Regions from separate parts of the Homo sapiens genome. Here regions 2, 3, 4 and 5 are each linked to region 1. The links are contacts of gene promoters, found by promoter capture Hi-C in human tissues and cell types (Jung and others, 2019). All regions are on one chromosome and are shown on one strand. The core of a region is centred on a gene start or on the middle of the fragment in contact, and the rest is flanking DNA. Distances in the headings are between cores, read along the strand shown.

Region 1 (2,571 bases), core at 20-2,519:
TTAACATGGGGACTCCAGAGACAGAGGAAAGAGTAATGGATCATTTCCAGGTTTCTGGCTTGAGCACTTGGGTGGCTAGTGTTGGCACTCTCCTAGAAAACACTGGAGAAAAAGACATTCAATTTTTGGATATGTTGAATTTTGAGGTTAATAGAATCTTGAAAATTAAAGCTTCCTGATTTTGTTAATCCGTTTTCTGACACCCTTTAGCAATTCTTCAATGCAATGCTTTTCACATTATTATATGCATAAGAATCACCAGGGGTGTGGAGATGGGGATGTGAAAATGCAGGTTCCTAGGCAAACAAGCCAAGATTCTGGATACCAACTGGGTCCCAGGACTCAAAACAATCAGCCTGAGTAATTCTGATGGAGGGAGTCTCCTGACGACACTAAAAAAACAACAAAAACGACCCCTCTGCCGGGCATGGTGTCCTGTAATACCAGCACTTTGGGAGGCTGAGTCGGGAGGATCGCTTGGGCCCAGGAGTTCGAGACCAGCCTAGGCAACATAGGGTGACCACCCACCCCCGTTTCTAAAAGTAAAAAAAGACCCCTCGTGTGTCTCCACCGTTAGGTTGTTTTCCCACTGTCCACCCCTCCCTACTTCTCAGGCACCTGCTTGGGGGCCCCTATTGCTTCGAATAAGCTCCGTGGGAGCCAGGACTTTGTCTTGCTAACAGGTGCATCTTCAGCGCACTCAGAACAATATCTGGCACAGCACGAGACACCTAGAAATGTTCGCCGAACGATCGAATGGCTGAATACATTCATATGTTGCTTTGTACAAAAACTTGCTTTCAAATATCTGGGAAGAGTTAGAGATAGGAAAGCAGAGGTCATTTCAAAGAGAGAGAGTGAGGATACCACCGGGAAGGCAGCGCCGAAAAAACCAGAGGGGAACCACTTGCCGATCCCCCAGGCACAGTCTGGAGGTCCCAATTCCCGCGGTAGGGGGGCGAGAGATGCCACTCGTCTGATCAGCAACCATTTTGGGCCCGCTTGCGCCGCTTCTCCGGGGCGTCCGCGTTGTGCTCATCCAGTTGCTTTTGAGGTTCCGGCCCCCTCCAAACCTCTGAAGCGCTCCGTGCACGCGACGCGGCGGCGGGGTAAGCTGGAGCCCTCGCCGCGAGCCCTCTCCGCTGCCTGCCCGCAGCACAGCCGCGCCGACCTCCTCATCATGGCGGCGGCCGGGCGGGGAAGCCGGGCCGTGCGTCGCGTGCGTGCCCTCTCCCTCCCCTCCCCCTCCTCGGCGGCGGCGGCGGCGGCAGAAGCGGCAGCGCTCGCCATTGCCGCTGGTGGCAGGAGGCTGCGAGGAGCCGGCGCGGTCGCAGTCTCCACGGCGCAGGCCCACGGTAGCGCAGCCGCTCTGAGGTGAGTGCCCTACCGCGCAATCTCCAGCTATTTCAGCCCCGGCGCAGCCGCAACACGCCGCCCGCCCGCCGGCCGGCCGGCCCGCCCCGCAGCCGGCACCCTGCCGCCCCCGGCTCTGGGCCTGGGCCCCCGCCGGATTCGGCCCGCCTCGGGCGGGGGGCCCCGGCCCGGCCCAGCCAAACCGCCACCCCGAGGATGCGCAGGCCGCACTAGGCCCCAGGCGTCCTGGCGGGCTCGGGAGGGAGGCGCTGCCCTCCCGAGAGCCCCAGGGTTCCGGCCTCCTCCGCCGCCTGGGGCTCTCGGGGCCGCGGCCTTCTCCCCGCCGTGGAACCCGGGGCCCGGCCTTCCCGCAGCTCGGGAGCGGGAGGCGCGGGAGAGTGCGCCGGGCCCGGGAGCGGGAGGTGGGCGGGCTGCGCGGGACCGGAGCCGCGGCTCTCGGCTCGCCCCCTCGGCCCTTCCCGGCTCTCGTACGCGGGCGGGCGGGCGGGCGGCGCGGTGGGGCCGGGCTGGGGCGCGGGAGCCGCTGTCTCCTGCGGGAGAGGAGGCTGGCTCTTTGGGCGACCTCCGAAGCTTCCCTCCTGCCGGGGTGGCGTGGGCTTGTTACCCAGGTAGACTGGGGGACGCTGGAATATGGCGCGTTGCCCACCTTCTTGCAAGTTAGGAGGTGGCCGGGGCGGCAGTTCGAGGAGGAGGGCGCAAAGTCCTTTTGTACGCAGAAATAAGGAGCGACATTGTGTTTTCTTCCCCAGCTGAGATGTGCCCGCGGAGGGGCCGCGGTTCTTCCTGTGCCTGGGGTGGTGGTCCCCTGGGTGAGGGAGAGGGGGAGTGGCACGCCCCTCCGAAGGAACAGAACCTTTTGCCACTGGAAAGACAGGGGCTCTGAGATGGCCGTGTGCATGGTATTTTCCCATATCCCCAGACCTTTTCGGGTTTGTCATTGAATGTTGTGCACTCCATCGTGCAATGATGTCTGCTGCCTCTCTCACCTGTTGTGTCGTGGCTGCTGGTCCCAAAGTTTCTGCAGTGTATTTGGCTGTGCCCACCAGAACTTGAAGTTGTTTAAAAATCTTAATACTTGGGGGGCTTCCAGTGATATCTGCTCCAACCAGTTGGAGGAGCTGTTGCCTGCTCTCCATTCTTCTTAAGCATTAGATTAGAATATATTAATTGCTTATTTTAGAGCTGGTGTCAATCGTG
Region 2 (2,571 bases), core at 49-2,548, 440 kb after region 1:
GAAGATAAAAGTTGAAGAAAAAAAGGCCAGGCATGGTGGCTCATGCCTGTAATCTTGGCACTTTGGGAGGCCAAGGCAGGAGGATTGCCTGAGCTCAAAAGTTTGAGACCAGCCTGGGCAACACAGTGAAACCCCATCTCTACTAAAATACAAAAAATTAGCCAGGCATGGTGGCGGGCGCCTGTAATCTCAGCTACTTGGGAGGCTGAGGCAGGAGAATTGCTTAAACCCAGGAGGTGGAGGTTACAGTGAGCCAAGATGGCACCACTGTACTCCAGCCTAGATGACAGAATGAGACTCCATCTCAAAAAAAAAAAAAAGTTGAAGGGAAAAAAGGAAACAAAACAATGGATCAAATTCTTGAAGTCAGGCATATAGCACACTAGGTATGTTTCTAAATAAACTTATGACATAACGTTTAATGTCTCTTCGTGAAACATGCAATGTGATAGCTGGTATGTGCTTACTTTTTCATTTGGGTAATATTCCAGTATAAGTTTTTTTTTGAGACGGAGTCTTCTCTGCCACCCAGGCTGCAGTGCAGTGGCATGGTCTCGGCTCACTGCAACCTCTGCCTCCCAGGTTCAAGCAATTTCTCCTGCCTCAGCCTCCTGAGTAGCTGGGATTACAGGCGCATGCCACCACACCCAGCTAACTGTGCATTCTTTTTTTTCTTTTTGAGATGGAGTCTCATTCCTGTCGCCCAGGCTGGAGTGCAGTGGCATGATCTCGGCTCACTGCAACCTCCGCCTCCCAGGTTCAAGCAATCCTCCTGCCTCAGCCTCCCGAGTCACTGGGACTACAAGCATGTGCCACCATGCCTGGTTAATTTTTGTATTTTTAGTAGAGACAGGGTTTCACCATGTTGGCCAGGCTGGTCTCAAACTCTTGACCTCGTAATCCACTTGCCTCAGCAAACCAAAGTGCTTGGATTACAGGTGTAAGCCACCACGCCCGGCCTAATTTTGTATTTTTAGTAGCGTCAGGGTTTCACCATATTGGCCAGGTTGCTCTCAAACTCCTGACCTCAGGTGATCCGCCCACCTTGGCCTCCTAAAGTGCTAGGATTACAGGCGTAAGCCACCATGCCTAGCCAGTATTAGTTTCTTGATCAAAAAAAGGTGTGTGATTTGGCTTATTTTATGGTCTTAAATTCTGAGATTTTGTTAATTTTTGATTCCTAGGTCAAGACCTTGTTAATAGTTTATAAGACAGAAATTCGGGGCCAGGTTTGGCGGCTCAGGCCTGTACTCCCAACCCTCTGGGAGGCTGTGGCAGCATAATTGCTTGAGGCCAGGAGTTCGAGACCTGCCTGGGCAACATAGCAAGACTTTGTCTACACACACACACACACACACACACACACACACACACACACGGGTAGGGGTGCAAACTTGGCAGGAAAAAAAAGCAGCTGGAGCTACTAAAGACTTCTCTCAAAGCAAGGTGATGTGAACAGCTTTTAAGGTGGCTCCAATGATCCCTGCCTTCTTATATTCATGCCCTTGTGTTATCTGCTCCTCTTGAGTATGGGCTGGCCTAGTGACTTGCTTCTAATGCATAAAATATGACAAAAATGATGAGATGTCACTTTTGAGATTAGATTACAAAATGAGGCTGGCTTGTATCTTGTTCTCTCCTTTGCTCACTCTGATGGAAGTCAGCTGCCAAGTTGTGAACTTTCCTTTAGAGAAGCCCACATAGCAAGGAACCAAGTGGGGAGGGACATCTCTGGCCAATGGCCAGTATAGAACTGAAGCCCTCTGTCCAACAGACACAAGTAAATGAATCCTGCCAACAGTATGCCAATGACTGAGTTTGGAAGTGGACCCTTTCCTAGTTGTTTTTTTTTTTTTTTTTTTTTTTTGACACGGAGTCTTGCTCTGCTGCCAAGGCTGGAATGCAGTGGCGCGATCTCGACTCACTGCAAACTCTGCCTCCTAGGTTCAAGCTATTCTCCTGCCTCAGACTCCTGAGTAGCTGGGATTACAAGTGAGCACCACCACACCTGGCTAATTTTGTTTTGTTTTGTTTTATTTTATTTTATTTTTCTTTTGAGACAATTTTCCTAGTTGAGCCTTGAAATGACAGTGCCCTGACCAACCTTAATTGCAGTCTGTGAGAGACCCTGAGCCAGAGGACTCAGCTAAGCCATGCCTGGATTCCTGATCCACAGAAATTATGAAATAAAAACTGTTTGTTGTTTTAAGATCACTAAGTTTTGGGGCAATTTGCTATGCAGCAATAGGTAGCTAATACACAAAGGAAAATCTAGAAAGAGACATTATAGTAGTGTAGTCTCTAATAATCTAAAAAACATTAGATTATAATCCTGGATCTGCCATTTGCTAACAGGTTCATCTTGGGCAAGTCATATAACCTGCCCCAAACTGTTTCCTCTTCTGTAAAACAAGTATAATAATAATGCTTATTTTCATAGGTTTAAGGTCAAGATCGAATGTGATAATATATACAAAAACATACTATATACAAGTATTAGTTATTATTTCTTCTTTTCTCAGGCTCTTAGTTTTTTCTTCTGTAAAAAGAAAAGGTTAGATAACCTCAACT
Region 3 (2,571 bases), core at 28-2,527, 350 kb before region 1:
AAGAATCCCCCATCCTTCACTTTTTCTGTTACTGTGTATTCTGTTGGATTGTTGCTTAAATACAAAATACTAACCTTATGCCTAATTTAGGTACTACGTGTATACCAGGACTACATGATATCCTTCTTAGAAGATAATACTTAGTGACATTAATAATTCATTGGGAGACTTCTCCATGTTCTTTTAGATAATTGCCTTTTCTGATTAAAGCTTGGAATGCCAATAGTTGGAATAAAGCAGTCACTTCTTTGATCTGTTACCCATTATAAAATTTATGTTATTTATCTTGCTTTTTTTTTTTTTTTTTTTACAAGAATCTCTGCTTATAGCAGATAAAAATACTGACTGACTTCCAGAGAGTTCCCTGAGATACCAGGTAAGATCTTGGATAGAATGGAGTGTAGGAAACAAACAGTTCCTATCGTAAGCAATTTTTGTTGCTAGAACAAAATCCTTTTGTAGGTCATGAACTTTTGAGTAGCCTGAGTTTTGAGTTAGCCTCAATTAAGGTTTTTGGTTGTTTTACCACCCAGGCTCCAGATTAGCAACTGGAGACAGGAGCTGTGATGGAATTAAAGTAACCGTGGCAACCATTATAATGTAAATGAGCCTTCTTGGGCAGGAAGTTGAGAGCGTGAGCACTTGTTAGGGCATTCCTTTATTACATCTACAACTAGAGCTGAGTAGCATTTTGCTATTTTAAAATCCTGCTCCTTGGACACCATCAAGTCCTGTGTTATTCCAACCTTCTTTTAGTTTTCTGAGAAACTAACACCAAACTAATATGTATATAAAATAGGAAATGAATCTCTGGTGTGCCTCCTTCATTCACATTAAGACCTCTTCTTCCTTTAATAACATTACCTTTTTCCCACTGCTTCTGGCAATAACACTCAGCACCAAGTCTCTGATAAACAAAGAAGGCCACTTAGGTTTTGAGAGATGTGGTGTGTACCTAGTATACTCTGATGGCCAAGATTTGGCTTATGGTGGAACAAGTGGTGCCAGGGCCCCTTCTTAAGCAGCACAGGAGCGACAAATCTTTGGTCTCAAATCTTAATTTTTTATATTAGTCTTTAAAATTTTAAATTATTTTAAAATTTTTTTCAATAAGTCTTTTGTACTCCTAACCTTTGAATTTCAAGTCATAAGATTGTAAGTTTTAGAGTATTAATGTAGGCTTACTCTTTGTGGATTTAGAGATTAGATGACTGGAGGAGAATAATAAAAGTGAAACTGAAGTAATTACCAAATGAGGTTGAGTTCTAAGTTAAGTACTGTACTTGTTTACTACCCCACAATGAGTCCAGTGATTTTAACAACAAGGCTTGTAAGCGAGAAGCTTAAGGTTCCTATTCAAGGTTAACTATTGTTATGATGTTGGTGCTAGGAAAATAACTTCCCTCAACCTCAGTTTTTCTCTTTGTAAAGGAAGAGTGAAAACGACGACTCACTCTGTTGTGGGGAAATACTTACAAAAGGAAATAAAATTTAACTAGTAGTATGGTCAAGAATGTCAGCTGAGGTTGGCCAGGCGAGGTAGCTCACATCTGTAATTCCAGTGCTTTGGGAGGTTGAAGCAGGCAGATCATCTGAGGTCAGGAGTTCGAGACCAGCCTGGCCAACATGGTGAAACCCTGTCTTTGCTAAAAATACAAAACTAGCTGGGCATGGTGGCATGTGCCTGTAATCCCAGCTACTTGGGAGACTGAGGCAGGAGAATCGCTTGAACCCAGGAGGCGAAGGTTGCAGTGAGCCGAGATCATGCCTTTGCCCTCCAGCCTGGGCAACGTGAGTGAAACTCCATCTCAAAAAAAAAAAAAAAAAGCTGATATAAGACAAATTCTGATTTTTAAGGTAATGTGCCTTAGTTATGCCTGCTTAGCTTGTGCCAGTTAAGGCTTTTTACTTTGATTTTAAGTTTCCTTCCTCCTACTTCATCCTTTTGTTGAGTTGTCATTCAGATCACAACAGATACTCTTGTATAACTGTCTTTGTTGGCTTAGTCTTCAACAGGTGGATTGATCTTGGACTTCAAATATTTGAGCATTTACTATATGCAAAGCTTGGAACTGGGTGCATAGGGAATAAATATAAAATGTATACAAGTGTGATTCCTGCCCTTCAATATACAATCATTCAAATACTTGTAGACAGTTCTGCTCTTACTTTTCCTACCCCAGATAGTCTCTTCTCCATGGAAATCATTCCTGCTTCTCTTAATCATTCTTCATATGATGTAGTCGGCCAGGCCATTACTACCATCCTGGCTATCAGCATCACTTGTAAGAGGTCATGTTTCAAATTATAATTCTCAGGGTGTTGCTTGACCTGTTTCATATTTCAAATTATAATTCTCAGGGTGTTGCTTGACCTGTTTCAATTTTCTTCCTTGTTCAGGTCACTGTACTGTTATTTTATTACCTATGAATTTGTATTAACTTTTAAGCTGTCAATTCAGTACAAAGGCCCACCTTGAGCTTACAGTCAACTGAACTCTCATCAACACATGTTAAAATTGGTTTCAATTTTTTTTTTTTGAGACGGAGTCTTGCCCTGTCACCCAGGCTG
Region 4 (2,571 bases), core at 51-2,550, 330 kb before region 1:
ATTTTTCTATTATTGGTGCATTTTTCTTGTGTTTTTTGTTCTTATGGTTCATTTAGCATCTTAGATCTATGAGTTTATTGTCAATATCAAATTTGGAAAAATTTGGCCACTATTTCTTTAAATATCCCTGTTTATCCTCTCTTTACTTCTGGGAACTCTAGTTACATGTATATTAAACTGCTTAAAGTGTTCCCAGAATTCACTCATGGTCTTTTTATTCTTTTTCCACTCTGGTTTACTTTGGGTAGTTTTTATTATGTGTCTTCTAGTTCACTCATCTCTTATGTTTTGTCTGATCTGCCATCAGTCTTATCCAATGCATTTTTCATATTAGACATTATTCTTTTTATCTGTAGAAGTTGGATTTAGGCCTTATTTTCTTTCTCCCATGTTTCTACTTAGCTTTTTGAATATGGAATAACTTTGTTAATTCCCTTGTCTGCTAATTCTAACATATATGTCAATTTTGTTAGCTTCAGTTGATTGATTTTTTTCTTCTTCATGGGTCATATTTTCTTTGCATGTTTGATAAATTTTTGTGGATTATAAACATTGTGAATTTTACCTGTTTAGGTACTGGATTTTTTTTTTATTTGTTCTGTGTCACAGTTAATTTATTAATACAGTTGAATCCTTTCCTTAAGATTTGTTTCAAAAACATAGAGAGAAGAGGGGGAGAAAAAAAAATATTTGTTAGGTGGGGCCAGAGCAGTTTTCCATCTAGGGTAGTTACTCCCCAGGATCCTTGGAATACTCTACCTCGTGCCTTGTTAATTACGGGGTTTTCCAGTTTGGCTGGTGGGAACAGGCATTGTTCTTGTTCTGTTTGAGTGCCAGTTAGTGTTCCCTCTAGTTTTCTAAGTAGTTCCTACATGCACTCACTGGTCAGTACCCCACTGAGTACTTAAGAGGAGCCCACTGCAGAGCTCCAGGTGCTCCCAGCATGCAGCGCGTTTTCCAGTACTCCATCCTGCACACTGTCTCTGCCTTGGCCTTCCCAGACTCTCAGCTCAATCTCTTCAACGAAGATAGCCCTGGGCTCTACTTGGGTTCCTCCTTCATTAAACTGCACCTTGGAAATATTCTCAAGGCAGTAAGCAGAAGCATTCACAGAACTTACTTCACTTGTTTTCTGTCTCTCAGGGATTGCTGTTCTTCATTGCCTAATGTGCAGTGTCTTTGAAACCATCATTTCATGTATTTTCTCTGCTTTTTTTGTTTGTTTGTTTCAGGCAGGTAGGTAAATCTTATACTTGTTATTACATATTGGCTAGAAATGGAAGTCCATTATTTTAAATACTTCTTATGTGCTTGAAATGTTTCAGGATAAACATATAGACTAAATGGATATATTTGCCAAAGATGAGGTACTGACAGAAATTTTCTAGACTTTAAAATTAAGTTTCACCTTCTTCTCTTCCATCATTTTGAGACTAAAGTTTTATATTTTAAGTGTTTTTTGGTATTTGCTTGTGCTTTGCTTTTTATCTATAAAAAAGAGGTTTAATATGTTCTATGGTTGTGTGACTCAAACAATATAGTACTTTTTGTACCACAGGCCCTGAGGTCTGAACTCAGCATCACTATCTTTTTTCATATTAGCTTCCAAATAGCATCAGGTGGTCATTTTTAAAATTTAAAACCAGTCTACCTATCTTGTTTGATTTGATCTTGTGACCTTAGGGAAGAAACCCACCCAGGAATAGAATAAAGAAACTTTTTACATCCTGAGGCTTTAAAAAACAAAATCAAAATCCAGCTATTTAAAAAATTTTAATATCTTTAAACCTTTCTACAATGGAGTCATTTTTTTAAAAGAAAGCACTGTCCTTTGCCTGGTTAATGAATAATGTGAGTACTATTTTATTATAAATAATTGATTTCCAGGACTTCCTGGGGTAGGAAGAATGTGTCCTAGCTGAATAAATTAAGGGAAGTGATAAGGACTGAATTCTGTTAGTGGAAGTAATAAACGAAAGAAAGTTATGTGGTTGGGGTTGACTGTGAGCAGAGAGTGATTCCGTAGTTAAGATGAAGGGATTTGTTAGTCTTCTCAGAGAGGAAGGACAAGCGTGAGGAATAGGAAAATTTCACCTGTAGGTGGGATGGAAAAAGCTTGGAATAATTGGCCGGGCATGGTGGCTCACGCCTGTAATCCCAGCACTTTGGGAGGCTGAGGTGGGCGGATCACCTAAGGTCAGGAGTTCAAGACCAGTCTGGCCAACATGGTGAAACCCCCATCTCTAATAAAAATAAAAAAATTAGCTGGGCATGGTGGCATGTGCCTGTAATCCCAGCTGCTTGGTAGGCTGAGGCAGGAGAATCGCTGGAACCCAGGAGGCAGAGGTTACAGTGAGCCAAGATCGCACCACTGCACTCCAGCCTAGATGACAGAGTTGAGACTTCGTCTCAAAAAAAAAAAAAAAAAAAAGCTTGGAATAGTTGTTTGGGGGCCATCCTGAGACAATGTGATTCTCACATATGGGAGTATGAAGATAAGGAATCTCTTGGAGAATTCTAGCTTGTGACTTTCACTCCTGCTTTCTCTTTCTCCTCTATGTTCAGTATGCA
Region 5 (2,571 bases), core at 47-2,546, 270 kb before region 1:
ACAAACTGTGTAATCTGTCCACGATCTTGAGAATTTACCAACACTTGGGAAAAAATAGCAAGTGCTTAAAGAGAAGAATATCAGTGTAAAGGAGCATGGACTACAAGTCTGTTAAGTGGTACAGGCAGTAATTACAACCATTAAACCACTCAGAAGAATGGTTTATCTCCAGGGTTATAAAGGTAAAGCTTTATGTGGGAACCAGCATGTACTTTGGCATTAAGAGAAGGGAAGGAGAACAGAAAGTAAATAGAAAGAGTTTAATAAGAAGGAGACAGAGCAGGCATTTTAAACTGAGGAAATTATATGCAAAAGTACAGGGGTGGAGTTGGGAAGGGACACCAGTGTTGAAGTATTCCTGTTACTTGTTGGTATCATCATTCACCCTATCAGCTGGTAGGAGAGCACCAGAAACCCAAGTCTTCTTAGACTCCTCCTCCCCATTAACTCAAAGGTAATATCCAGAAGAAACAAAGAACATTTGTGGAAGGAGAGTAAGAGTCATGACTCAGTTTTGATCCTAAGTGACCAGAATAATAGATTTTAAAAATATATGGGTAGGGAGGTAGTTTGAAGGAGACAATAATGAAGAGAGAGACCCTTTCCTTTAAAATAGGAATAAAGAAGCAAAAGGTAGGTGAATATACCAAGAACTTCCAATTAAAAGATGAGGGAACTTGTAGTAATCTCCCTTCTGTGTGTTAGAGAATGCGGCTATGTAGCTTTGTACCTTGAGGGACTTAACAAGGGTTAATTATAATCAACTGTTGAAACACACTGTTCTAAACGCAGTATTATTCACTTGCCACCTATTTTGGGAGTTCATGTATAAGCATATAAAATTACCATTAGACTGTTTCAAAGTGGTAGACCTTATTTTAAAGTAAGAGCATTTATTTTACATGTTTAAAATAAGGGATATGTAAATCTTTCCTTTCTCCCTACTCACCTCTGTTCACCACAGGCAGTCATTGTTGACATCATCTTGTGCTTCATTCTAGAAAAATTTGGCATATATGTATATAATATTACACGTTATGTGTTACAAGTATATATTAACATACATATCTTGATAATGTATTTATACTATGTATCTTGAAACAATTTCATTTACATCTTTTAATTATGTGAAATCTTTTCTCTTTTCCTTTGGCCTCTGGCCCCATTTCCTTTATATAGGGAAGTATACTATGGGGATATAAATTCCAAATACCTGTTTTGTTTGTCTATCCAATTTTCTATTTCATTGCATTCACATTGGATTAAAGTTGCTTAAAATAGCAAAACATTTTCCTTTTTTATTTAAAATTTTTTGTCTTAAAAAGCATGAGGAGAAGGCATGGAAATATTAGTCACATTTCTTGGTATTCAATATTCCTGTGAGTAGTGTTTATTAAAAGCTCATCTTTCTTGCTTGGCATATCCGTACAGTTTCCTCCCACTAGAGGGCACTAGGATATTGTTTGTTTTTAGTGGTCTGTTTATGATGAACTTAGCATTAATTTTCATATGTTTTCTTATTTGTCCTGCATTATAATAGGAATTAAATTGTCATGCTGATGTCACTTTGTTAGCGATATATGGACAATTAAGGCACCTTCCCTGCTATCAATTATGACTTCGAAGACTATTTTGTGCTTAATACTTAAGAAGAAAGGGAGAGGGGGAGCTTAGAGCAATGGGAAGTTCCAGAAATAGACCTCTACCTATAGAATGAACTGGATTTTGAAAAAGAAGCCAAGATAATTCTGTGGGGAAAAATTTTTCTTTCCAACAAATGGTGCTGGAACAACTAAATACTGTTTGGGGGCAAAGTGAACTTTGTTTCTGATCTCATTCCAAGTATAGAAGTTAACTCAAAATGGATCATAGACTATAGAAAAAAACAAAGGAGAAAATCTTCATGACCTTGGGGTAGGCAAAACTTTCTTTGCACACAAAAAATACTCTAAAAGAAAATGTTTTGATAGAGTTCTCCAAAATTAGAAACTTCTATTCAAAAGACACAGGTAAGTAAATAAAAAGGCAAGCACAGACTGGGAGAAAATATTCACAATACATATACAGAAAAATGACTGGTATTTAGAATTCATATAAAGGAATCTAAAACTCAGTAATAAGATAATCTAGTTTCTTAAATGGAGGAATGATTTGAACAGACATAGCACAGTACATACTATATGAATGCTAATAAGCATATAAGATACTCAACACCACGAGAGAAGTGCAAATTAAAACCACAGTGAGATACTGCACACCTGCTAGAATGGCTAAAATTAAAAAGAGTGACAATAGCTACTACTGATGAGGGTGTGGGACAGTTGTAATGATCATGCATTGCTGGTGTGAAACAGTTTATTATAAATTTAATATATTCTTACCAGGTGACCCAGCAATTTCACCCTTACCTATGCATTTACCCAAGAAAATGAAGCCCATTGTTCACATGAAGACCTATACACAAGTGTCCATGACAGTTTGATTCATAATGGCCCCAAAGTGGAAACAACACCACATGTCCATCAATAAATGAATGGATAAATAAAGTATGGTACACCCATGTAATGTGCT

Evidence for each region. The method cuts DNA at HindIII sites, captures the fragments that hold promoters and counts their contacts. A contact is called where the count stands out against the background at its distance.
Region 2: a contact is called between a fragment that was not itself captured here and the fragment with the promoter of NRF1 in region 1, in 1 of the 25 tissues and cell types used here (mesendoderm cells).
Region 3: a fragment that was not itself captured here is called in contact with the fragment with the promoter of NRF1 in region 1 in 2 of the 25 tissues and cell types used here (mesenchymal stem cells and mesendoderm cells).
Region 4: a contact is called between a fragment that was not itself captured here and the fragment with the promoter of NRF1 in region 1, in 1 of the 25 tissues and cell types used here (IMR-90 fibroblasts).
Region 5: a contact is called between a fragment that was not itself captured here and the fragment with the promoter of NRF1 in region 1, in 1 of the 25 tissues and cell types used here (heart left ventricle).

What each region holds. Positions count from the first base shown.
Region 1 is chr7:129,610,451-129,613,021 of GRCh38, forward strand. It overlaps NRF1 (nuclear respiratory factor 1), which reads left to right and starts at 1,270. Exons shown (of 11, transcript NM_005011.5): 1 at 1,270-1,374. RefSeq lists enhancers at 688-737, 2,418-2,557 and a silencer at 1,128-2,117. The HindIII fragment of the contact is 9,254 bases long and covers 1-2,571 here.
Region 2 is chr7:130,046,301-130,048,871 of GRCh38, forward strand. The region is part of intron 2 of ZC3HC1 (zinc finger C3HC-type containing 1); the gene reads right to left. Among named protein-coding and RNA genes, the nearest start is that of ZC3HC1, 3.8 kb to the right of the region's middle. The HindIII fragment of the contact is 4,946 bases long and covers 1-2,571 here.
Region 3 is chr7:129,258,267-129,260,837 of GRCh38, forward strand. All of the region lies in intron 1 of AHCYL2 (adenosylhomocysteinase like 2), which reads left to right. Among named protein-coding and RNA genes, the nearest start is that of AHCYL2, 35 kb to the left of the region's middle. The HindIII fragment of the contact is 3,313 bases long and covers 1-2,571 here.
Region 4 is chr7:129,282,189-129,284,759 of GRCh38, forward strand. The region is part of intron 1 of AHCYL2 (adenosylhomocysteinase like 2); the gene reads left to right. Among named protein-coding and RNA genes, the nearest start is that of AHCYL2, 58 kb to the left of the region's middle. The HindIII fragment of the contact is 3,996 bases long and covers 1-2,571 here.
Region 5 is chr7:129,341,831-129,344,401 of GRCh38, forward strand. The region is part of intron 1 of AHCYL2 (adenosylhomocysteinase like 2); the gene reads left to right. It overlaps LOC105375500 (a long non-coding RNA gene), which reads left to right. Exons shown (of 2, transcript XR_927962.3): 1 at 1-2,571. Among named protein-coding and RNA genes, the nearest start is that of STRIP2, 91 kb to the right of the region's middle. The HindIII fragment of the contact is 3,656 bases long and covers 1-2,571 here.